2 separate regions of the Homo sapiens genome follow, and region 2 is linked to region 1. The links are contacts of gene promoters, found by promoter capture Hi-C in blood cells and fetal thymus (Javierre and others, 2016). All regions are on one chromosome and are shown on one strand. Each heading gives the region's core, a stretch centred on a gene start or on the middle of the fragment in contact. The rest is flanking DNA. Distances are from core to core; before and after follow the strand shown.

Region 1 (5,641 bases), core at 645-3,144:
CTGATGATGGATACCATAAAACCCGTGTGGCACAGGTTTGAGTAACTGGCCAGCTACAGATCACTGATCTTCCCCATAGGGATGCATACTCCTTGACCCCTTCTTTTCTCTCCTCTTCCCTTGCTTTCTAGGCTCCTGTAGCCCTCTGCCTTCTTTTCCTCCTCTCAAGACCCTTCTGACTTTGGGACTTTCTTCCCAAAACAGAATTTGAGGGAAGGTCTTGGGAGGGGTCGGTTTAGAAAGAGCTGGATCCTCAGAGTCAGGATACCTGGGTTCTGTCTTCTACTTGGCCACTGATTTACCCTTCACAAGCCACCCTTTTTGAATGTGGTCCTCCTTCCCCCAGCACCTTCCTCCTGCAACCAGAGAGGGTTCTGGGTACTCCTAGAAGTATTCTGCCAGGCAAACATTATGTTTTCAAACTGCTGAATTTGAATGCACCACCCCGAAACACACACACACACACACACACACACACTGCTACAGTCACTCCCCACACACATCTTTTATCTGCCTGCCCCTGAAGGCATCTGAATTTGCAGTCCCTGAACCAGCAGATCACTCAAGTTTCTCCTTCTCTAGTATCGCGTGGGTTTAAGTTCTGGTCAGTAGCAATTTTTCCAAAAGTCAGCTTGAAGACAGGGACTCTGTGGAGCAGACACAGTTCTCATATGTCAAAGAACCGGGTTCTGCTTGGAAGCTGCTGCTAAGGAAAGCCCTATAAATAACAAAAATAACAACAAAAACAACGGCAGCAGCTAATATTTAATGAGTTAAATATGCATCAAGTCCTGTTCTAAGCACTCTAGATATTTTAACTTAATACAGTAACCTTCTGAAGAAGGAATTATTATTCCCATTTTAAAGATGAAGAAACTGAGGAATAGATGAAATAACTGGCCCAAGGTCACACAGCTAGTTGAGGGCAGCGCCTGAAGAAAAGTCCGTGCTCCTAACCACCACATTCTACCGCCTTTTCACACACACAAGCAGGGACTCGACAGCCCTGAGGAGTGGCACCGTGCTCCAGCTCACTCAAAAACACCTCTTTCTCGCACTTTGGGAGGCCGAGACGGGCGGATCACGAGGTCAGGAGATCGAGACCATTCTGGCTAACACGGTGAAATCCCGTCTCTACTAAAAATACAAAAAAAAATGGCCGGCGTGGTGGCGGGCGCCTGTAATCCCAGCTATTCGGGAGGCTGAGGCTGAGGCAGGAGAATGACGTGAATCCGGGAGGCGGAGCTTGCAGTGAGCCGAGATCGCACCACTGCACTCCAGCCTGAGCGACACAGCGAGACTCTGTCACAAACAAAAAAATCCAACGGGCATCTATAATTACACTCTGCAACTCTAGACTTTGGGTTCTGGGTACAACAGTGGCTCGGCCTGGGCCCTGGGCACATCACTTCACCTCTCGGTGCCTCCGCTGCCTCACCCACAAAGTGAGTGTGTCACTGACAGTCATCGTCCTCCCGCCAATTGCGAAGGACAAAAGAGACCAAAGCTCCGATAGCACGTACGAATGCTAGGCACGGCCGGTCTGACCACCGCGCCGCCGCCAGGTCCGGCCCATGGTAGGCTCGGGTGACCCTCTTCCCCTGAAGCACCCGCAGTCGCCTCTGCCCAAGTTGGTGACCTCAGCTGGGCCCATGAGAAACCCCGGCCGGGCCGGCTACGACCTTGAGCGGCGGCCTCCGGGTCCCCACGTAAGCCGCTACCTCTCACCAGTGTTCGGCACCTCCCGATACCAGGCGCGGTAGAGCTCGCGCACCCTCCGCTTGGCCTCGTTCATGTCCCGACTGAAAATGGGCTTCACGAAGGTGCTGGCGGTAGAAGTAGCTTGGCGGACGCCGCTCCCCGCCATCTTGCCAAAGCATCCACTCCACAACCCCACCCCTTTGCAAGCAGCGCGTGCGGACCGCGGGCGAATGTCTTTTCCCATTGGCTAAGGAGGAACGCCCCGCCTGTATGCTGGGTGGGCGGGAGGATGACTCTGAGGCTCTCGGATTGGCTGGGAAGCCTCTCTCTGGCTGAGCGAACGGTGGGTGCTGCGCATGCTCATCTACAGAAACGCCGCTTGGCCTTTGGACTACACCATCTGTCGCTCGCTCTAACGAGCCGGCGTTGCCGCCAGGGGACGCTCGGGCCGCAGGAGGTCGCTGGGTCGTGAGCTGGCGCCGGGGACGCCGAGCGACTGCGGGGTTTCCCTCAGCGTCCTGCTATCCGGCTGCCCGCCGCGCTCCTTGGTAGTGTCCGTGGGCGCGCAGGCCTTGAAGAACCTCCTCGTGGCGGGACCCCGAGGTAACTGCTGAGGCAGATAATGGCGCCTGGGCTGCGGTGGGGCTTGTCCTGCCGCCTGGCGGCTTTCTGCAGGGCCAGGATATACTTACTTTTCTGTAAACCAACTCTTCCTTAGCGCAGGAGAGGTGTCAAAGAGCTGGCGCGTCTCCAGAGCCCCGGGAGGAAGGCTGTAACGGCAGCCCCATCGTAGACAGGGACATTCGCATCCCGAGCCCTGGATCTCTGAAAACCAGCCCAGAATTTGGAAGCTGGAAGGAACTTTAGATCGTCCATTCTGAGTGTCTCTCTTCGCTGGCGTTTTCCCACTGAGGTTATGTAAACATGAAGAGGAGCCTACAAGTGTCAAGGAAAAAACGACAGCTAACCACAGGGCAGGCCATGGGCAAGATATCTCAGTGTTCTCCGCTCTCATAGGTCAGGTAGGTACCTCAGCATCCCCATTTTACAGGTGAGGAAACTGAGATGGCCCAGAGTCTAGGTCACCTGACAGATCGCCCCCACCTGCCTGACTGCTGCCTAAGAGGCTCCGTCTTTTTCTGAAGGTGTAGTTGACAGGAGCCTGTGAGTATTGGGGAAGGGCCAGGGGCCGGGGCTGAGCATCTACTCCAAACTTTCCCATTTCGAAGGGTTAAAAAACCAGATATACTTTTTTTCTTCCTTATTATCTTCTAAAATGTATATATATATTCAAGTGAGCTATACAAAAGAAAGCACGTAACATATATAAATTATAAAGCATAATAATAAAATGGAAGCTTTTGAACCTCAGTACTGACTTAAGAAGTTGTAACACAGTTAAGGTTTGTATAAAGTGTCCTTAGATGTCCTTAGTAGCCACTGTTCTCTAGTTCTCTAGGTACATTAACTTGGCTAGGCTTCACAACACACCAGTGAGATTGTGTTGATATACCCTTTTTTTTTTTTTTTTTTGAGACAGAGTGAGACTCACCTAGGCTGGACTGCAATGGTGCAATCTCGGCTCACTGCAACCTCCGCCTCTCATGTTCAAGCCATTCTCCTGCCTCAGCTTTCCGAATCGCTGGGATTACAGGTGCGCACCACCATGCATGGCTAATGCTTGTATTTTAGTAGAGACGGGGTTTTGCTATGTTGGCCAGGCTGGTCTCAAACTCCTGACTTCAGGTGATCCACCCACCTCAGCCTCCCAAAGTGCTGGGATTACAGGTGTGAGCCACTGCCCCCGGCTGATATACTCATTTTATAGATGAGAAAACTGAGGCACAAAGAGACTAAGTTACTTTACAGCATTGGGGTTGAAGCCCAGGCAGCTGGTGCCAGAGTCAGTTTTCTGACTCTCGCAGCACCTATACCATGATATCTACCTGTATGATTCTAACCTTGTGTATACCCCTGCCTCCTTCAGAAGTACCCACTATCATGATAAATTCATTGTGTTCAACATTCAAAAAAAAAATGGGGCGCAGTGGCTCACTCCTGTAATCCCAACACTTTGGGAGGCCAAGGCAGGTGTATCACCTGATGTCAGGAGTTCGAGACCAGCCTGGCCAACATGGTGAAACCCCCGTCTCTACTAAAAATACAAAAATTAGCCGGCATGGTGGTGGGCACCTGTAATCTCAGCTACTCGGGAGGCTGAGGCAGGAGGATCGCTTGAGCCCGCGAGGTGGAGGTTGCGGTGAGCCAAGATTGCGCCGCTGGACTCCAGTCTGGGCGACAGAGTGAGACCCTGTCTCAAAAGGAAAAGAAAAAAAAGACCTCTAAACAACCCACAAACTGGGAGAAAATTTTTGCAAATCACATGTTCCATAAGGGACTTGTATCTAGGATACATAAAATTCTTACAACTCAGTAATGAAAAGACAAATAGCCAAGTTTAGAAATGGGCAAGGGAGACAACACCAAATGCTGGTGAGGATGTGAAGCAACAGGAACTCTCCTTACTGGTAGGAACGCAAAATGGTACAGCAGCTTTGGAAGACAGTTTGGCTTTCTGACAAAACTAAACATACTCCCATCAGAAGATCCAGCCATTGCATTCCTTAGTGTTTACCCAAATGAGCTGAAAACTTATGTCCACACAGAAACCTGCACATGGATGTTTACAGCAGCTTTTGTTTTTGTTTTTGTTTTTGAGATGGAGTCTCGCTCTGTCACCCAGGGTGGAGTGCAGTGGCGCGATCTCGGCTCACTGGAAGCTCTGCCTCCTGGGTTCACGCCATTCTCCTGCCTCAGCCTCCAAGTAGCTGGGACTACAGGCGCCTGCCACGAAGCCCAGCTAATTTTTTGTATTTTAAGTAGAGACGGGGTTTCACCATGTTAGCCAGGATGGTCTCGATCTCCTGACCTCGTGATCTGCCCGCCTTGGCCTCCCAAAGTTCTGGGACTACAGGCGTGAGCCACCGCTCCCGGCCAGCAGCAGCTTTATTTGTAATTGCCAAAACTTGAAAGCAACCAAGATGTCCTTTAGCAGGTAAATGGATAAATAAACCTTGGTATATCCAGACAATGGACTATATTCAGCACTAGAAAGAAATGAGCTATTAAGCCATGAAAAGGCATGGAGAAACCTTAAATGCATATTAGTAAGTGAAAGAAGACAATCTGAAAGAGCTACATACTGTATGATTCCAACTATATTACATCCTGGAAAAGGCAAAACTATGGAGACAATAAAAAAGATGGCAGGGGCTGGGAGTGGGGAGAAATGCACAGAGGTGGTGCACAGAGAATATTTAGGGTAGTGAAATTACTCTGGATGTTATAATGGTGGATACATGTTATTACACATTTGTCAAACCCTACAGGATGTACAACACCAAGAATGAAACCTAATGTAAACTATGGGATATGGGTGATACTGGTGTGTCAATGTAGCTTCATTGCTTATAACAAATATATCCTCTGGTGCCTGATGTTGTTGGTGGGGGGAGGCTATGAGTGTGTGTGGGGTGGGGGAACCCTGTATTTTCTGTTCAGTTTTGCTGTGAACTCGAAACTGCTCTTAAAGATGAAATTTTTATTTTAATGGGTAAAGTATTTGAATAACCATTTCTCCAAAGAGGATATACGGGTGACCAATAAGTACATGAAAAGACATTCAACATCATGAGCCATTAGGGAAATAAAAATCAAAACCCTCGTGAGATACCATTTCTCACCCAGTAGAATGGCTAGAGTGAAAAAGGCAGACACAGCCAGTCACGGTGGCTCACACCTGTAATCCCAGCATTTTGAGAGGCCAAGGCCAGTAGATCACTTGGGTTCAGGAGTTTGAGACCAGCCTGGCCAACGTGGTAAAACCTCCTCTCTACTAAAAATAGGAAAATTAGCTGGGCATGGTAGTGCATGCCTGTAA
Region 2 (5,684 bases), core at 361-2,860, 240 kb after region 1:
CTGAGTGGCCCTGCAGATTCCACTCCAAGCTGAGCAGACAACCCCTGGCCAGGGCCTCTCAGGGGGCCACCAGGCAGGCTGGAGGCTGCAGAGGCCTGGAGGGCACTGCCTTCTATGCTGTGGGTCTCAATTTCCTCATCTGCAGCATGAAACAGTGATCCTTCCTTCCAGGGCCATAACAAAGGGTCAATGAGAGGGCATCACAGTGAACTTGCTGAGCACAGGGCAGGAATAAGTCCCTGAGGCACTGACGTTTGCAGTGTCCCCGGGTGCCCAACATCCCTCCAAACACCTCGCTCCTTCCCCCCCACCTCAGGGCCTTTGTACACGCTGTTCCTCCTGCCTGCAACACTCTTCTCTGTGTCTCTCCCCTGCTGGTTGTTCTGAGCTCAGATGCTATATCCTCCAGGAAGTCTTTTCTATCCCCTAGATGAGGTCACAGCCCCACAGTCTCCCCCAAACCAGACTGAAAACTCCACGAATGCAGAACAGGGACTGTCTTGCTCACTGCTGTGTGTTCTTACTATTTATTAAATGAATAAATAAATGAGTGGATGAGTGAGACATGACAACTCTTGACCTTCAGTGACAACACAGGGCCATCGGGGTGGCAGGGCCTGCCTTGAGGGCTGTGGGCACCCATCCGAGCCCCTGATCCAGCCCACAGAGTCCAGGAAGTGTTCCCAGAGGAGGCAACAGTTCAGCCTGAATTCAGAAACTTGAAGCTGCAAGGTCACCAATACCTACTTTACAGATGGGGAAACTGAGGCCTAGGATCAGGGGCTGCCCGTGAATGTCCTGAGAAGCTGCCCTGCTTCGCTGGTCTAAGGCTCTGCCAAGTCCCCCACCCCTGAGTGGCCCATCTCATTCCCCTGGGGCTGCCCCACAGCCCACCCAGGGCCGCCACCCCCTGCCCCTGGTCATCCATCGAGCAGGTGGCAGGGCTGCTCGGGGCTGGGGCGGTCCTGGGCATGCGGTTGCACTGCTGAGTCGGGCAGCTGGCAGCAGCACAGCTACGAACCAGCTGTTTGGATGACAAACTGTGTTCAAGCTTCATTAGGGTAATCACGGGCTCCCCTCCCGGCAGCGCCGCGGAGCGCGACTGTCAACCTGAACTAATCAAACCCGGCCCCAGGACACCCGCCCGCCTGGCTGACAAGCCGCTAAGCCACGAGCCACCGGGTGCTGCACAGCTCCCGGCAGAGACCCAGTCCTGCCGCACGCCCTGGAAACAGCTGGCCTCACAGAGACCTACTGTGTGCTCCCTGAGATCTCGTGAGCCTCAGAGGCCCTATCAGGGAGGGACAATCACAACAGTCACTCCCATTTCTATAGCCCACGAGAGAAAGTGACTTACCAAAGCCACATAGCCTTGTGGGGTTAAGTCAGACAGGAACCCAGGTCCACCAGGGACCCCCATCACCAGCCCTATTCCCAGTGCCTCCCAGACCCGGGCAACCTTGCCTCTTCCTGCCCTTGAGGCCCAGCAGGCTGAGCTTGGAGCTCTGAGGCTGTGGTCAGATGTGTGGCCTCAGCAAGTCCCTTGACATGTCTAGGGCTTGAGCCCTGCACCCCAACAGCAGCCTGGGGGCTCTGATGGTGCAGGTGTGGAAAGCACTCTGCCAGGCACTGGGGGTGGTGCAGAACCTGCCTTGTAGTCTATGGTCACTACCCTGCGCAGCTGGGCTGTAAGCCAGCCCACTTGCCTTACATCCTCAGAATCTGAACTTAGCCAGGAAGGGAAGGTCTGGTTCCTTCATTTGACAACTGGGGAAAATGGGGCCAAGAGAGGGGTGTCAGAGATCACGGAATGTAGTGGAAAGAGTACAGGCTTTAGAGACAGATGGATATTCCTTCATCCACTCATCCGCTCAACAAATACTAGCAAGATGCTATCACATGTCAGGTGCTCAGGACTTGCTGAAGGAACAGATGACAGGAAGGAAGAGTGAGTGAACCAACGAAAGGCACCGGGGTCCAGCCGTGAACTCAGCAGACACCATCCCTGCCTCCTGGAGTTTTCTGTCTAGGGCGAGCAGATGCATAACAGATAACTATTACAAATGACATGGGCACTACGAACTAGCCTGATAACATGCACCAGGAAGGCCCTGCCTGGCAGAGGAGGTGATACTCCAGCTGGGCTCTGAGGGTATTAGCCAGGCAGGGAGAAGCTTGGGAGGTCGGAACAGCAAGTGCAAAGGCCCTGAGGTAGGAAGCAGCTCAGGGCTTTTGAGAACAAAAGGTCCCTCTATGTGGCTGGAGTGTAGTGACCAGTGCAGGAGCTGGAGCAGGAACAGCCAGGGGGAGGATCTCGGTCTCATTCCAAGGGTGATGGCAATGTAAGCAAGGGCAGCACTCTGGGTTCGACGGGGAGAGTGAGCGGGAGAGTTCAAATACCAGTTCAGCCAATTTCTTTCTTTCTTTCTTTTTTTGAGGCGGAGTCTCGCTCTGTTGTTGCCTAGGCTGGAGTGTAGTGGTACCATCTCGGCTCACTGCAACCTCCGCCTCCCGGGCTCAAGCAATTCTCCTGCCTCAGCCTCCCTGCTAATTTTTGCAATTTTAGTAGAGATGGGGTTTCACCATATTGGCCAGGCTGGTCTCAAACTCCTGACCTCAAGTGATCTGCCTGCCTCAGCCTCCCAAAGTGCTGGGATTACAGGCATGAGCCACCGTGCCCCGCACAGCCAATTTCTGATAAAGCAACTGCATGGGCAAACACGATGCTACAGGAAAGGGACCATGCTGTGCGGCTCTGTTTCTATAAAGTGCAGAGATGGACAAGGCCAGCCTCTACTGTCAGATGCCAGGAGTGGGGGCAGCTGCTGGCAGCAGGTGGGGGTTGACTGGGAGGAGCACGGGGGAGCCTCCAGGGGCACTGGGGATGTTCTAGGTCTGGATCTGGATGGAGGCTGCACAGCTACCTATAGCTGTACACTTAAGAAGTGTGCACTTTTCTGTATTAAGTTATACCTCCAAGAAAAAGTAAAAACAAAAGCCTGGCTGCGTCACTCTGCCTCTCTTAATCTCTGTTTTTGCATTGGCAAAATGCAATGGCAGGAGCTGCCCCACTGTGCAGAGGCTTTAGAGGACGGTGCACCCAGTCTGTGTGCAGTGGCAGGAGCTGCCTCGCTGTGCAGAGGCTTTAGGGGATGGTGCACCAGGGCTGTGTGTAGACAGTGGCAGGAGGTGCCTCACTGTGCAGAGGCTTTAGAGGATGGTGCACCAGGGCTGTGTGTAGACAGTGGCAGGAGCTGCCTCGCTGTGCAGAAGCTTTAGAGGATGGTGCACCAGGGCTGTGTGTAGACAGTGGCAGGAGCTGTCTCGCTGTGCAGAGGCTTTAGAGGACGGTGCACCAGGGCTGTGCACAAGCCTGGCTGACAGCCACTGCACCATGAACGCAAGTCACACAGAAGCAGAAAAGTATCTGGCTTCCACCACACCTTGGCCCTCTTTGAGCCTCAGTTTCGGTAAGGAACCAGTGGTCCCCACCTGCCTCAGAGGCAAAGGGGTAAAGGTGTAAAAACCCTCATATCAGGCCCCTGTGAGCCAGCTTGCCCCTCGCCACAAAGTGGAGAGCAATTCAGAGACCAGAACACACAGTATGCCTACTGCTCCACGCAGTAGGTACTAAGCCTGTAACTCACTGCCCACAGCCACACACAGAGGAAGGCGATAGAAGGCAGGCCTAGCCCAAGCTTCCAGGTGCCCAACCTGCTCACCCACTATGTGCCAGGCCTGGCCTAGGGCTTCCCTCTAGGAGGAGCACCGGCCCACCACGATGGCTCCTCCAGGTGCCACTGGGACACAGGACCATAGGCACAAGCGCAGTGGGAACCCAGGCCAACGGGTGGCCCCTGCCTGGGGCTGGAGTTTAGCAGACTCCTGTGGGAACAGGCTCACAAGGTTCCAGATGAGCCACCAGATAAAGGTGACTCAACATAATGGTACCCTTGGTGTCAGAGGGGCTGCATGGCCAGGTGCCCCTCACACCATGGGCAGCTGGAAGCAGGGAGAGGCCTGGTTCCCTGTCCAGAGCCTGAACATCTCACCCTCCTCCCTGGGACCTTGGGTGGCCTTGGGAAATCAGACTGGTGGCAACCTCACCAACAATTTGTAGGCTCAGCTGTCCTCACGGCCCTTTAATATCATTTTCTCATGAGTCTGCCAACAACCTAGGGACAGGGCCCGGGGTCAGAATCATCATTGGCTCCATTTTACAGAGGAGTACACTGAGGCTCTAGGAGGTTTGGTGTCCCAGGGGTACCCCAATGAGGAGTCAAGAAGCAGCTAGATGGCTGGATGCCCATGGTCAGCCCCTGGGCACAACTCAGTCCCCTGTGCCCTGTCCTCCCCATCACCTGGGGGCTGCTCACTCAAGCAGCCAGTTCACTCAGTCAGTCAACAAACAGCAACTGTGTGCTGCAGCCACTGTTCTAGGAGCTGGAGGCAGAGCAGGGAACAGGCTAGGCTGCAGGGAGGTGGTTCCGAGTCAACAACCGCTCCAGCCCTTACACACTCGGCACATGCCGAGAACAACAGTGTGGCAGACACACTGGCGCCTGTCATGAGCCAGGCGCTGCACTGAGACTATCACATCTAATTCTCTAAGCAGCCTCACAAGGGTGGAATAGTCATCCCCATTTTACAGATGAGGACGCTGAGGCTCAAATTCAGGGCCTTGCCTGAGTGTAGTCTCACAGCCTAGTCTAAGTGGGGAAGGATCTGGCCCCAAGCACGTGGGCTCCTCAGTCCTGTCTGTCCGTCCCATGGGACTTTTAGTCCTTTGTGTGAGTTGTCGGAAGGGAACCTTGCTCTGGACCTCAGCAATGGATGGATCTAGCAGGGCCTCAGGATGAACCAGGACCCAAGACTCCACACCCCATCCCGTGTCTCAGGCCCTGGCTGCCTACAGTATCCAGAGCTGTACACCCTCTGGGCCCGGAGCCCAGCCTGACTTTCGTTCTGCATACGCTCCTGGGACCTGGGCTCCACAGAGACATCCGAGACCATTCCTGCTCCCGGGGCCCTGCCCACATCAGCTCAGCCCCAGCAAAGATCCCAGTTTTGTGCTGGCCCCCACCAGGCAAGAGGGGTGGGGAAACAGACAAGAAAGCAAGGAGTCCCACTTGGGATGCTCTCCCCGCACACCTCCCATGGCTGGCACCTTCTCCTGCCCCTGATAAAGGCTCCCTGGCCACCCTGCCTCTATCAGCACCCCCTGCACCTCCCACTCTCTCTCTGGCACCACTCAGCTTTTCCACACAGCCCTGCCCACAGGCCGGCACCAGCCACGTTTTCACCTGTTTGCTGTCTGTCACTCCTACTCCACTGTGAGCTCCTCGAGGGTGAGAACCTGGTCTGCTTTATTCACAAATGTAGCTCTCCCCATCCCACCCCCAATCAGTACCACATCTGGTGCATAGTAGGGCTGCAATATCCTTATTAAGGGACTGCATTTGCTGAATGAATACTGACTGGCAGAGAGAATGCGAGAACACAGTGCACGCATCTGTTACCCCTGACTCTGAGCAGACAGCAGGGGGGCAGAGAGTGGGGAAGTGTCCCAGGCAGAAGGCATAGCAGGGGCAGAGACCTGAGGGCAAGAAAGAACTGGGCTCTGGGACCTCTAAGTGCAGCTTCTGAGTGCGGCAGAAGCACAGGACGTGAGACTAGGGAGCCAG

What was found. Contacts are between HindIII fragments. The CHiCAGO score rates a contact against its expected background, and 5 or more counts as called.
Region 2: a fragment that was not itself captured here is called in contact with the fragment with the promoter of NDUFA6 in region 1 in 2 of 17 cell types (naive CD4 T cells and activated CD4 T cells); the score reaches 6.1 in naive CD4 T cells.

The regions. Positions count from the first base shown.
Region 1 is chr22:42,088,878-42,094,518 of GRCh38, forward strand. NDUFA6 (NADH:ubiquinone oxidoreductase subunit A6) reads right to left here and starts at 1,895. Exons shown (of 3, transcript NM_002490.6): 1 at 1,729-1,895. The coding sequence starts at 1,867. NDUFA6-DT (NDUFA6 divergent transcript) reads left to right here and starts at 2,056. Exons shown (of 5, transcript NR_034118.2): 1 at 2,056-2,304; 2 at 2,420-2,723; 3 at 3,242-3,355. The HindIII fragment of the contact is 8,372 bases long and covers 1-3,057 here.
Region 2 is chr22:42,330,084-42,335,767 of GRCh38, forward strand. It overlaps a transcript of TCF20 not described here. Among named protein-coding and RNA genes, the nearest start is that of LINC01315, 36 kb to the right of the region's middle. The HindIII fragment of the contact is 1,123 bases long and covers 1,050-2,172 here.